4 separate regions of the Homo sapiens genome follow, and regions 2, 3 and 4 are each linked to region 1. Evidence: promoter capture Hi-C in human tissues and cell types (Jung and others, 2019). All regions are on one chromosome and are shown on one strand. Each heading gives the region's core, a stretch centred on a gene start or on the middle of the fragment in contact. The rest is flanking DNA. Distances are from core to core; before and after follow the strand shown. Region 1 holds the start of LRIG3 (leucine rich repeats and immunoglobulin like domains 3). Region 2 overlaps LOC105369789 (a long non-coding RNA gene). Region 3 has its middle 340 kb from the start of LINC02403. Region 4 overlaps LINC02388 (long intergenic non-protein coding RNA 2388).

Region 1 (2,853 bases), core at 132-2,631:
ATTATAATTATACATCATCCAAAAAGGTAGTAGCGTTGTTGTTAATGGTAGCTGGAAATAAGAAAATGGGATACCATATCTAAAATAGGGTGTGTTAACTTCAAAGTGAGTCTTTTCCTTCCCCCGTAAGTGGGAGTGATTTGCTACAGTGAAAAATCAATGGGCCTTAGAGTCAGGGTTAAAGTCTCAACTCCACAAGCTATCTCCACTCCTCAATCATGAGCAGTTTACGCAACTCCAAGGACAGACAAGCTTGGGCAGACAGCATGCAATAAACAATGTATAGAAGTGAAAACTTACTTTAAGCTTCCAGGGTTTGTTTTTTGGTTTGTTCATGTTTTCTGTCTTGCTTTTATTTTTATTTTTTTTGCAACAAACACATTAGTTACGTTCTCTAGGTCTATTTCCTTACCCAGAGGAGGAAGGCCCCTTAGCACATGATCTCTGCGGTCTCCATTAGTTTCAACATCTTGTGGCGCTGATCACCTGTAAGTTAAGGAACAAACTTCACTGGGAAGTCCTGTAGCCTGAATCCAGCCCCAAACATCCACTCCCCCAGCTGAGGAGGCCGGGAGGTACTTTTACCCTGGTAGCATTCTCAATCAACATGTGTCATTACTCAAAGCGCAAGTGGACCAAGGTGCATATACTAATTTTTTCCTCCAAGGTCTTAGTTTTCATTTTACTTTGAAATGTCACTGTGACTACTTTTATTATTACTATTACCAGGAATCTATGATTGCCATCGAGGTCTATTAGAAGGTCATCTCCCATCCCCCACCCCGCCCAGCTTTATCCAGTGCACGAAGGCTGGCTATTTGTAATTCAATATACACTTTCCAAAACCACGAGTTTTACGTTTTATTATTGTTTTTACTTTTGAAGCCGATGTATGGGGGAACACCCACCAGCATTAACGTTGAAAGAGCTGTTTTCATTGAAACCACTCTTTCATCTGTGGATGGTAGGATAATTTATCAGTGTCTTTAATTTGGAATTGAAAAGTTTCCTGAAAACACTGCTAATTAAACTTTACTTCCCTGAAGTTCTCCTAAATACCTCCAACTCCGAGAACTAGCCCAGTATTTGCTCACTTCCTTTTGCCTTTCAACTCCATTTGATATATGTTTCCCACGACGTAGTGGAGACTTCTGGCTGGAGAGGCTGGAAAATATAACTCTGAATTTCCTACAATCTCAGCTCCACTTTCTCCCGCGCGTAGGCCCCCGGCTGGAGCGGTGTTATTGTCACGTGGCCACGGGGACGCCCGCAGCCGAGTCGGCCAATGGGCGCGCGTCGGCCTCTACCCGCCCGCCTTGCTACTCCGCCGCGCGGGGACTTGGCGCAGTGCCGCGGGGTGGAGGCGAAAAAGTTTCTTTTGCAGACAAGAAGGGGCTTCGGCGAGCCGACGCTGCTCAAGCTGCAACTCTGTTGCAGTTGGCAGTTCTTTTCGGTTTCCCTCCTGCTGTTTGGGGGCATGAAAGGGCTTCGCCGCCGGGAGTAAAAGAAGGAATTGACCGGGCAGCGCGAGGGAGGAGCGCGCACGCGACCGCGAGGGCGGGCGTGCACCCTCGGCTGGAAGTTTGTGCCGGGCCCCGAGCGCGCGCCGGCTGGGAGCTTCGGGTAGAGACCTAGGCCGCTGGACCGCGATGAGCGCGCCGAGCCTCCGTGCGCGCGCCGCGGGGTTGGGGCTGCTGCTGTGCGCGGTGCTGGGGCGCGCTGGCCGGTCAGACAGCGGCGGTCGCGGGGAACTCGGGCAGCCCTCTGGGGTAGCCGCCGAGCGCCCATGCCCCACTACCTGCCGCTGCCTCGGGGACCTGCTGGACTGCAGTCGTAAGCGGCTAGCGCGTCTTCCCGAGCCACTCCCGTCCTGGGTCGCTCGGCTGTAAGTATTCTTCCCGCGGGGGGAGGGGGCCCGGGCCGCTGGAGATTCGAGAAAACAGGAGCCGGCGGGGAATGGGGTTCGGCGTGCAGTCCCCTTTTTGCCGTATAGCTCCTTCTGGCCCAGGCCGCGATCGGCGCTCCGTGGGCGTGGAAAAAGAACTGTCCGGGCCTCAGTTTCCCTCCCACGTGCTTTGCGGGCGGCGCAGGTGGGCTCTTGGCGCGTCCTAACTGGCTGCAGGTAGACCAGGGTTGGGGGCCAGTAACGACGCCAGAGATTGGGGATGAAGTCCTGCGCCCTAAGCTAGCCAAGGGGTTCAAATGCTTGCTCCTGCCAGGCCCAGGGGAGATAAGCGGCAACCTGCACACATCAGGAGTTTGCAGTTCTCGCTGAGTTATGAGTCTGGTTCAGTTTTAGTTTCTAGCTGCGTCAGACTCCTTTTCCTGTTCCCACCCAGTAACTGAAGTCAGGCTTTTCATTTGGGAAGCCCCCTCAACAGAATTCGGTCATTCTCCAAGTTATGGTGGACGTACTTCTGTTGTTCTCCCTCTGCTTGCTTTTTCACATTAGCAGACCGTAAGTTCCCACTCCTCAACCAGATTGTAAAGACTGGTCGGTAGCTATGGAAAGGGCGGAACTCGATTATCCAGAATCAAGGGCGTGATTTCTGTAGCTCCTCAGAACGCCCAGACGGTTTAGGGGAGAGCGCAGGGAGCTCTTATGCAAGTTTTTGGATTTTTAGCTGCGAAGTCTGAAAACCTGAAATCACTGCCAACTGCGTGAAGAACAAGGAAGAAAATGTAATTTAGTTGGAAATGCTGATCTTTTCCAAATGTCATCTCTTTTCTTCCTCAGTCCCAGTTTTAAAATTGGAGTGCTGTAAAAAGTAAACAATCAAAATTTGTATTTTTTAAAGTAGTTGTTCTGTTTAAAATAAAAGTGCACTTCATACGTAATCTTATATTTTGACT
Region 2 (2,803 bases), core at 38-2,537, 370 kb after region 1:
TTGATTGTATAGTACACATGTTGTTCAATATTAATATTCTATATTTGACCTCTGTTTCCCTGAGTGTCAAGGATCTGTACTAATTTTTGGCTAGTTCTGTCAATAACGATTTTTTTTTCATGAGTTTTGTAAATACAGCGGGAAAACCTTTAATAACTGTGGTTAATGGGTTATTATCTTGAGCTTTTCCTGTACACAGTATCAAATTGAAGGAGATAAGGCCTTTTAGCAAACTCAAATCCTTGTAATAATACTTCACATTGTCAAAATAGCAATTTCTATTTCAGCACATTTAATGGTAAGAAACAATATTGATGAGTATGGTGTTGTTTGGGGTGGTGATTAATGCCTTCCACATGCTTAACCAGCTAGAATTTGCTAAATAATTTCTAATTTTCCTTTGCTTTCCATACTCTGCAAATTAAAATAAGGTGTTATTACTTGGGGTGGGGATGGGGGAAATCTCTTAGCCTTACTGTCTTTGCTTGTAAAGGAGGAATAGTAACACCTGCCCACCCTACCTCTCAGATTTGTCATGAGGGTCAAGTAGGATGATGCATGAGAAAATGATTTGTAAGCTGCAAAGCTTTGCACAAATTGAACTTGTTAGCATAATCTGGATTTTACATAGGTCAAAGCTTTATAAGGCAAAGATGCATTCTAAACTTGTAGGATGAACCATTTCTAAATCTTCAGCATGTACTGTGAACTATTTCTTCCAGTGCCACAGATCAATGATAATACTGCCTAGTCACTTATTTAATCTGACAGGAACCTAAACAAAAATAATTAAAAGCTGATCTACATACCACATATTCCTTATTGCTATATAGCACCTCACAAGCCAGTCAGAGATCAATTAATCAATGTTTTCCTCAATTATGGTCTGTCAGCAGATAAATCTACCAAACCAATCAAGGTTATTACAGGCCCATAGTTGTGCAGGAATGAATTTTGCAACTGCTGAGCCATTTCTCTTGAAAGGAAAGGGTGAGAAATGGTTGTTTTGCCTCATCTTTTCTGCAATAATAGGAAGTTTCCAACTCATGAAAGGGTGTTATTGACAGTCACAGTAAGACGTTTGGAATCCACATGTAAACTCTGTGATGAACATGGCCCCGCACAGAGGACCTGAGACATTTTGAGGAGGGCCTTCTACGTTTCTTCTCCCAGCACATGAGGCAAGTGAACCCCACTAGTGTAGTTCTCTGTCAGTAAGAAAGAGCACAAAGTCCTGTTTCTGAACTAACATAAAAGAATGGATAATATTGCCAGTAATCTTGGGAAGGCATGGGATTCAAAGGTGAATATTTTTGTATGTTTGTGCATTATTTGTTTTGATGTATAAGACAATAAGACAAGCCAGGCACAGTGGCTCACACCTGCAATCCCAGCACTTTGGGAGGCTGAGGCAGGCAGATTGCTGGAGTCCAAGAGTTTAAGACCAGCCTGGACAACATGGCAAGGCCCCATCTCTACAAAAAATATAAATAAATAAATAAATAAATAAATTAGCCAAGCATGGTGGCATATGCCTGTAGTCCCAGCTACTCAGGAGGCTGAGATTGGAGGATCACTTAAGCCCAGGAGTTGGAGGCTGCAGTGAACAAAGATTGTTTCACTGCACTGCAGCCCGGGTGACAGAGCCAGACTCTGTCGCAAAAAAAAAAAAAACATAGCTAAGAAAGATAAGACAGTTTTCATTAAGCATGGAAACCATTTCAACTTTAAATGCAAACTTTTAAGGAAGGAAAGATTTTACTATTTTCTTCCTCTGACAAATATCTTTTATTAACACATTTCATTATTAATAAATCCCACCACACTTAGTTTTATTTTTTGTTTTCTTTTCTCCTTCTCTGAAAAATAATATAATAAGGGGAGAAGCCCAGGGACCTGACTGCTCAGCCAGACCTGGCCTTCACTGCACTGGACTCCCTAGCAACATGGGGCTCTTCAAGGCTTGTTTTCCCTTTGGGAATATAAGAAGCTTAGTGTACAAGGAACCTCTTCATTGGAAGCTTATCCAAAATAAGTTTTAATTTCTAAGTTTGCAGGCAGTGGATCCTGGGTAACTGTCATGGATTCAGCGGACCCTAGAAGAGTTGAAATCATGAGTTCCCTACTTCTCCCTCTCCTTTTTCAGCCTATCCCTTTTTCCCAGATAATTTAATCTGTTATAATTTACAGCTAGAAATAGATTAAGGTTGTGCTTCCATCAGTGACTTCTCCAAACTTTAAAAAGTATCAATATCTGGGTCCCACTCCCATATATCTAGCTGCTTTGAGGTGAGGCCTGGAAAGCAATATTTTTTAGAAACCCCCCACATAATTTCAATGTATGGCCAGGGTTGAGAACCACAGATTAGAATGTAACACGTAATGGATCCTGGAAAAATTACCTTTGCCTGGGAAAAGCTTTGATTTATGGGGATTCAGGCCTATATTGTAAATTAGTGCATTGCCACGTGTTTTTAGGAAATGTGCTTGAGTTTCCCAAATGTTGCAGGTATGGACTTTGCATTGAGGAGGTCCTCTGCATCTTGTTGCCCCTGTGGAACTTTGGAAAAGCGAAGTATATGAAAGAGTTGGAGTAAAATTAATCTACTTTCAGAGATTCAGAAGGAACTACAGATGCACCCATGGGTGCCCCAGGCAGAAAGTGCCAAAGATGAGAATGAGATTCCAACCAGGCTGCTGAGAGAAGCCCCTTTCATGGATATTGAGAAAAATAAGAAAAAGGAAAATTGAAAAGCAATTATTTTGAATTACTTTCTTACATCCTTGAGTACACTAATTTCTT
Region 3 (2,843 bases), core at 228-2,727, 490 kb after region 1:
TTTTTCTTTTGCTTTCCATTTGCTTGGTAAATATTTCTCCATCCCTTTATTTTGATCCTATGTGTGTCTTTGCACTTGAGATGGGTCTCCTGAATACAGCACACCAATGGGTCTTGACTCTTTATCCAATTTGCCAGTCTGTGTCTTTTAATTGGGGCATTTAGCCCATTCACATTTAAGGGTAATATTGTTATGTGTGAATTTGATCCTGTCATTATGATGCTACCTGGTTATTTTGCCCATTAGTTGATGCAGTTTCTTCATAGTGTTGATGATCTTTACAATTTGGTATGTTTTTGCAGTGGCTGGTATGGGTTTTTCCTTTGCATATTTAGTGCTTCCTTCAAGAGGAGCTCTTGTAAGGCAGGCCTGATGGTGACAACATCTTTCAGCATTTGCCTGTCTGTAAAGGATTTCATTTCTCCTTCACTTATGAAGCTTAGTTTGGCTGGATATGAAATTCTGGCTTGAAAAATTCTTTTATATAAGAATGTTGAATATTGGCCCCCACTCTCTTCTAGCTTGTTAGGTTTCTGCAGAGAGATCCACTGTTAGTCTGATGAGCTTCCTTTTGTGGTAACCCGACCTTTCTCTGGCTGCCCTTAATATTTTTTCCTTCATTTCAAACTTGGCAAATCTGACTATTATGTGTCTTTGGGTTGCCCTTCTCAAGGAATATCCTTGTGGTGTTCTCTGTATTTCCTGAATTTGGATGTTGGCCTGTCTTCCTAGGTTGGGGAAGTTCTCCTGGATAATATCCTGAAGAGTGCTTTCCAACTTGGTTCCATTCTCCTTGTCACTTTCAGGTACACCAATCAAACATAGGTTTGGTCTTTTCACAAAGTCCCATATTTCTTGGAGGCTTTCTTCATTCCTTTTTATTCTTTTTTCTCTATTCTTGTCTTCACACTTTATTTCATTAAGTTGAACTTCAATCTCTGATATCCTTTCACCCACTTCACTGATTCAGCTATTGATACTTTGTATGCTTCACGAAGTTCTTGTGCTGTGTTTTTCAGCTCCTTCAGGTCATTTATGTTTTCTCTAAACTGGTTATTCTAGTTAGCAATTCCTCTAACCTTTTTTCAAGGTTCTTAGCTTCTTTGCATTGGGTTAGAACATGCTCCTTTAGCTCGGAGGAATTTGTTATTACCCACCTTCTGAAGCCTACTTCTGTCAATTCATCAGACTCATTCTCCATCCAGTTTTGTCCCCTTGCTGGTGAGGAGTTGTGATCCTTTGGAGGAGAAGAGGCGTTCTGCTTTTTGGAATTTTCACCCTTTTTGTGCTGGTTTTTCCTCATCTTCGTGGTTTTATCTACCTTTGGTTTTTCATGTTAGTGACCTTCAGATGGGGTTTCCGTGTGGACGTCCTTTTTCTTTATGTTTATGCTATTCCTTTCTATTTGTTAATTTTCCTTCTAACAGGCCCCTCTGATACAGGTCTGCTGGAGTTTGCTGGAGGTCCACTCCAGACCCTGTTTGCCTGGGTATCACTAGCAGAGGCTGCCAAACAGCAAAGATTGCTGCCTGTTCCTTCCTCTGGAAGCTTCGTCCCCCAGAGGGGCACCCACAAGATGCCAGCTGGAGCTCTCCTGTATGAGATGTCTGTCGACCCCTGCTGGGAGATGTCTCCCAGTCAGGAGGCATGGGGGTCAGGGACCCACTTGAGGAGGCAGTCTGTCCCTTAGCAGAGCTCAAGGGCTGTGCTGAGAGATCCTCTGCTTTCTTTAGAGCCAATGGGCAGGAATGTTTAAGTCTGCTGAAGCTGTGCCCACAGCCGCCCCTTTCCCCAGGTGTTCTGTCCCAGGGAGATGGGAGTTTTATCTATAAGCCCCTGACTGGGGCTGCTGCCTTTCTTTCAGAGATGCCCTGCCCAGAGAGGAGGAATCTAGAGAGGCAGTGTGGCTACAGAGGCTTTGTGGAGCTGCGGTGGGCTCCGCCCAGTTCGAACTTCCTGGCAGCTTTGTTTACACTCAGTTGGAAATGCAGAAATCACAGGCCTTCTGTGTTGATTTCACTGGGAACTGCAGACCAGAGCTGTTCCTATTCAGCCATACAGAGTCTCCCTCTTGGCAGCTCTTCAGAATAGAAGCCATGTCTCAGGCAGCAATGTGGCCAGATAGAAAGTTGGTGTTTCCTGTGCAAAAGAGTTAATCTTTGCAAGTGTGGTTCTGAGAAGTTGGTGGGAGACCCTATCTCTGCCAGTCATGGCAAAATACAGTCTGGGCAGGTTTCCAAGTTCAGCTGACATTCCTAAGCCAATGAGAAGTGTCCAAGATGGTTTCCAGCTTTCTCTCCAAGGGTAAGAGTTGAATGTGTTGACTGACCTTTACCAGCACGAACACATTTGCCATTTGACTCTGAGGAATAAATGGGTGACCTGACTGTGGGCACAGAGCTGAAGGCTGATTCTCCAGAAAACTCACCATCAGTTTGCTCAGCAACGCTGCTGACTCGGAACACATTTTGTTTTTTCTTTTTGAAACTGCACCATGCATTCTTGAAAGCATGACTCAACCTTACCAGCAGTCTCAGTGAGCTTGAAATGGCCTCAACTAGAGGATTTATAGCCTTTGCAAACACAGGGCACATTTCTTTGTTTCCTTTCAGAAACTGAGAAGTGATTCATTTTCAGTAAACAAAGAGAGGATTACCAACACATTTACTAGTCTGAAATTCAGCTTCCATTGAATGCAATTCCTTTAGTTCCTAGTAAAGGCATTGTGCATTTCAAACAGCTATCTTTCTTCTTTAATCCACTTTCTTTCTTCCTAGTGTGGAAAAGATATATAATTTAGCCCTCACTCAAATACAAATAAGATGAGTTTCAAAGGCCATTCA
Region 4 (2,700 bases), core at 160-2,659, 290 kb after region 1:
CCTTAACTTCTATCACATACAGAGATTCCATACTTCTCCCTCGCTTCACATTTTATGCTATTGATATCATACTCTACATTTATTTATGTTTTGCATCTGTTAACCAATTTTTTATAGCTATAGTTGTTTTTAAAACATTTGTCTTTTAACTTTTATACTAGACTTAAGAGGGATTTACCCATTAGCTTTACAGTATGAGGGTGTTGTGAAGTTGACCATGTATTTACTTTTAGCAGTTAGCTTTATACTTTCATGTTTTCATATTGTTTTTTATTATCCTTTCATTTCAACTCAAAGAACTCCCTTTAGCATTTTTTGTAAGGCCAATCTTGTGGTAATGAATTCTTTCAGCTTTTGTTTGTTCCTGCAATGTCTTTATCTCTCCTTCCTTTCTGAAGGATAGCTTTTTGAATAAGTCATCCCACTCCTTCCTGACTTGCAAGATTTCTGTTGAGATATTCATTTATGGCCTTACAGAGATTCTTTACATGTGATGAGTTTCTTCTCTCTTGTGGCTTTCAAGATTCTCTTTTTGATTTTGACTTTGACAATTAGATTATAACATATATTGGAATATTCCTTTTTCTCTTGATCTTACTTGAGATCTTTTCAACTTCCTGAATCTGTATGTCTGTATCCCTCCCAATATTTGGAAAGCTTGCAGAGAGTAATTATTTAAATAATCTTTCTGCTCCTTTCTCTTTCTCTTCCCCTTCTGGTACCTCCATAATTTATATATTTGTATGTTTGATGATGTCCTGTATGTCCCTTATGTTTTCTTCACTCTTTTTCAGTTTTTTTCTTTTAGTTTCTTTAATTGTCTAATTTCAACTGAATTGTCTTCAAGTTCACTAATTATTTTTTCTGCATGATCAAGCCTGCTGTTAAAATTTTCTATTGAATCTTTTAGTCCTGTCATTGCATTGTCCAGGATTTCTGTTTGGGTCTTTTTTATGCTTTCTTTTCCTTTATTAAACTTATTTTGCTCAGGTATTGTTTTTCTGTCTGTATTTTGTTGCTTCTCATTGAGCTTCTTTAAAATTATTATTTTGAATTCTTTTTCAGGTAAATTTTATATCTCCATTTCTTTGGAGCTGATTATTGAAACTGTATTAGTTTCCCTTGGTGGTGTCATGCTTGCCCAATTCTTTATTATCTGCAAAGCCTTCCATTAGTACCAGTGCACTTGAAGGGGCAAGTCCCCTTTTCAATCTTTACAGACTGGTTTTAGCAAGTTAAAATCTTCTCCTGTTAGGTCTCCCAGCTGATAAGATTACCTCTGGGATTGCCATTGAGTGGGATTGGATCAGGTCTCATGACTGATGCTGAGTCTTCATTGGAAAGCCTGTTACCAGGGATTCTAGTGGGCATGGGCCTCTATGTCCCTGAGTAGACTGAATTGTCTTCAGGACCTGGTCTGTGTGGCTGGCATTGAGATAAAGGTCAACTTTAGGGTTTGCAGATGCCAGGTCTGTTACCATATGTACTGAGGGGTGTGGCTTCCCTTCAAATAGGAGAGATCTCACTGGATCACTGGATGGGTTCCATAGTTAAGATGTTCTGAACTGAGATACAAGGTTATTTCAGGGTCCACCATCAATACCAAATCTTTAGGCCTGTCTCCAGGGTCATGAATTGGTATGTCTCCCAGTGATTTTCTGGGTGAGCAGGCCAGTTCTTAGACTGCAGCTGAGGAGGACTGGAGTCAATTTATAGGGTTATTTCAAGATCTACAGTGAGACCAAGTTCAGGGTGTCACTATGCAGGGGCCCTACAGGGTGTGCTTCCTTCTGGTTCTCCAGGCAAATGGAACTACTCTTATCTTCAAGACAGAAAGGGCCAGAAATGAAATCCAGGATCATTTGAGGATCTACTCTGGGAAAGAAATTGGCAAACCTGTCACAGGGATTCAGAGGGGCTTGTCTCCCAGAGGGAGCTGTACTTGGAAGAGCTGTTTCCAGAACACAGCCAGGAGGGGCTACAATCAAGCTTCTGAGTTATTTCAGAATCTGCTATGGGATCGATGTTGGCAAGCCTGACTCAGTGACACCAATGTGTGAGACTTCCAGCATAAGGACAGAGTTACTCCCAGACCTCAGCTCAGAGGGGCCAGAGCTGAGATTCAAGGCCTCTTCAGGAACTGCTCTGGGACAGGCTGGCAAGCCTGGCCAGGATAGTAGTCCCTGCATAAGAAAATTAACTCTGGGGATGTGGCAGGGTGGCTGGGGCCAAGAGAGGGTCATTTCAGGATCTACTATAGGACAGAGGCCAGCAAGCCCGTCCTGGTGCATCAGGTAGGCAAATCTCCTTCTTGGTCTATGCGCAAGCAGTACAAAGCTGGGACCACAGCTCAGGAGGGCTGTAGCCTATTTACAGGGTAACTTTCAGGTCCACTGCAGAGACAGATGTCAGCAAGAAGACAGGCCTGTCTCTCAAGGAACTAGCGTGTGTGATTCTTCCCAGATCCCTTAGCAGATGGTTTTGGTAGTTGTCTCAAGGCCAAATGGGGCTGTAGCCAAACTCTTTGGAAAATGAGGTTGTTTCTGGGTCCAAAATTGGGAGCATAACTGGAGGGCCTGCCACCTAGGTGCAGATCTGCACTCTCAAACCAATCCTCTTAGATCTTTGGCTCAAAAGAGAAGTTTTACAACCCCGTACATGAATCCCAAATCTCCCACAAAGAGACTTTTGTTTGTAGAT

Evidence for each region. Contacts are between HindIII fragments. The study calls those that stand out against the background at their distance.
Region 2: a contact is called between a fragment that was not itself captured here and the fragment with the promoter of LRIG3 in region 1, in 2 of the 25 tissues and cell types used here (dorsolateral prefrontal cortex and mesenchymal stem cells).
Region 3: a contact is called between a fragment that was not itself captured here and the fragment with the promoter of LRIG3 in region 1, in 1 of the 25 tissues and cell types used here (mesendoderm cells).
Region 4: a fragment that was not itself captured here is called in contact with the fragment with the promoter of LRIG3 in region 1 in 2 of the 25 tissues and cell types used here (bladder and dorsolateral prefrontal cortex).

The regions. Positions count from the first base shown.
Region 1 is chr12:58,919,032-58,921,884 of GRCh38, reverse strand. It overlaps LRIG3 (leucine rich repeats and immunoglobulin like domains 3), which reads left to right and starts at 1,381. Exons shown (of 19, transcript NM_153377.5): 1 at 1,381-1,885. The coding sequence starts at 1,650. LRIG3-DT (LRIG3 divergent transcript) reads right to left here and starts at 1,181. Exons shown (of 6, transcript NR_183518.1): 1 at 1,095-1,181; 2 at 413-486. RefSeq lists silencers at 497-606, 1,225-1,334, 1,755-1,834 and an enhancer at 2,215-2,484. The HindIII fragment of the contact is 9,447 bases long and covers 1-2,853 here.
Region 2 is chr12:58,549,392-58,552,194 of GRCh38, reverse strand. LOC105369789 (a long non-coding RNA gene) reads left to right here. Exons shown (of 3, transcript XR_945007.3): 3 at 1,033-1,106. Among named protein-coding and RNA genes, the nearest start is that of LINC02388, 230 kb to the left of the region's middle. The HindIII fragment of the contact is 3,536 bases long and covers 1-2,803 here.
Region 3 is chr12:58,425,362-58,428,204 of GRCh38, reverse strand. No RefSeq gene overlaps it. Among named protein-coding and RNA genes, the nearest start is that of LINC02403, 340 kb to the right of the region's middle. RefSeq lists enhancers at 1,792-1,911, 2,092-2,171, 2,176-2,843. The HindIII fragment of the contact is 3,948 bases long and covers 1-2,843 here.
Region 4 is chr12:58,631,368-58,634,067 of GRCh38, reverse strand. All of the region lies in intron 1 of LINC02388 (long intergenic non-protein coding RNA 2388), which reads left to right. All of the region lies in intron 1 of LOC100506869 (a long non-coding RNA gene), which reads right to left. Among named protein-coding and RNA genes, the nearest start is that of LINC02388, 150 kb to the left of the region's middle. The HindIII fragment of the contact is 5,154 bases long and covers 1-2,700 here.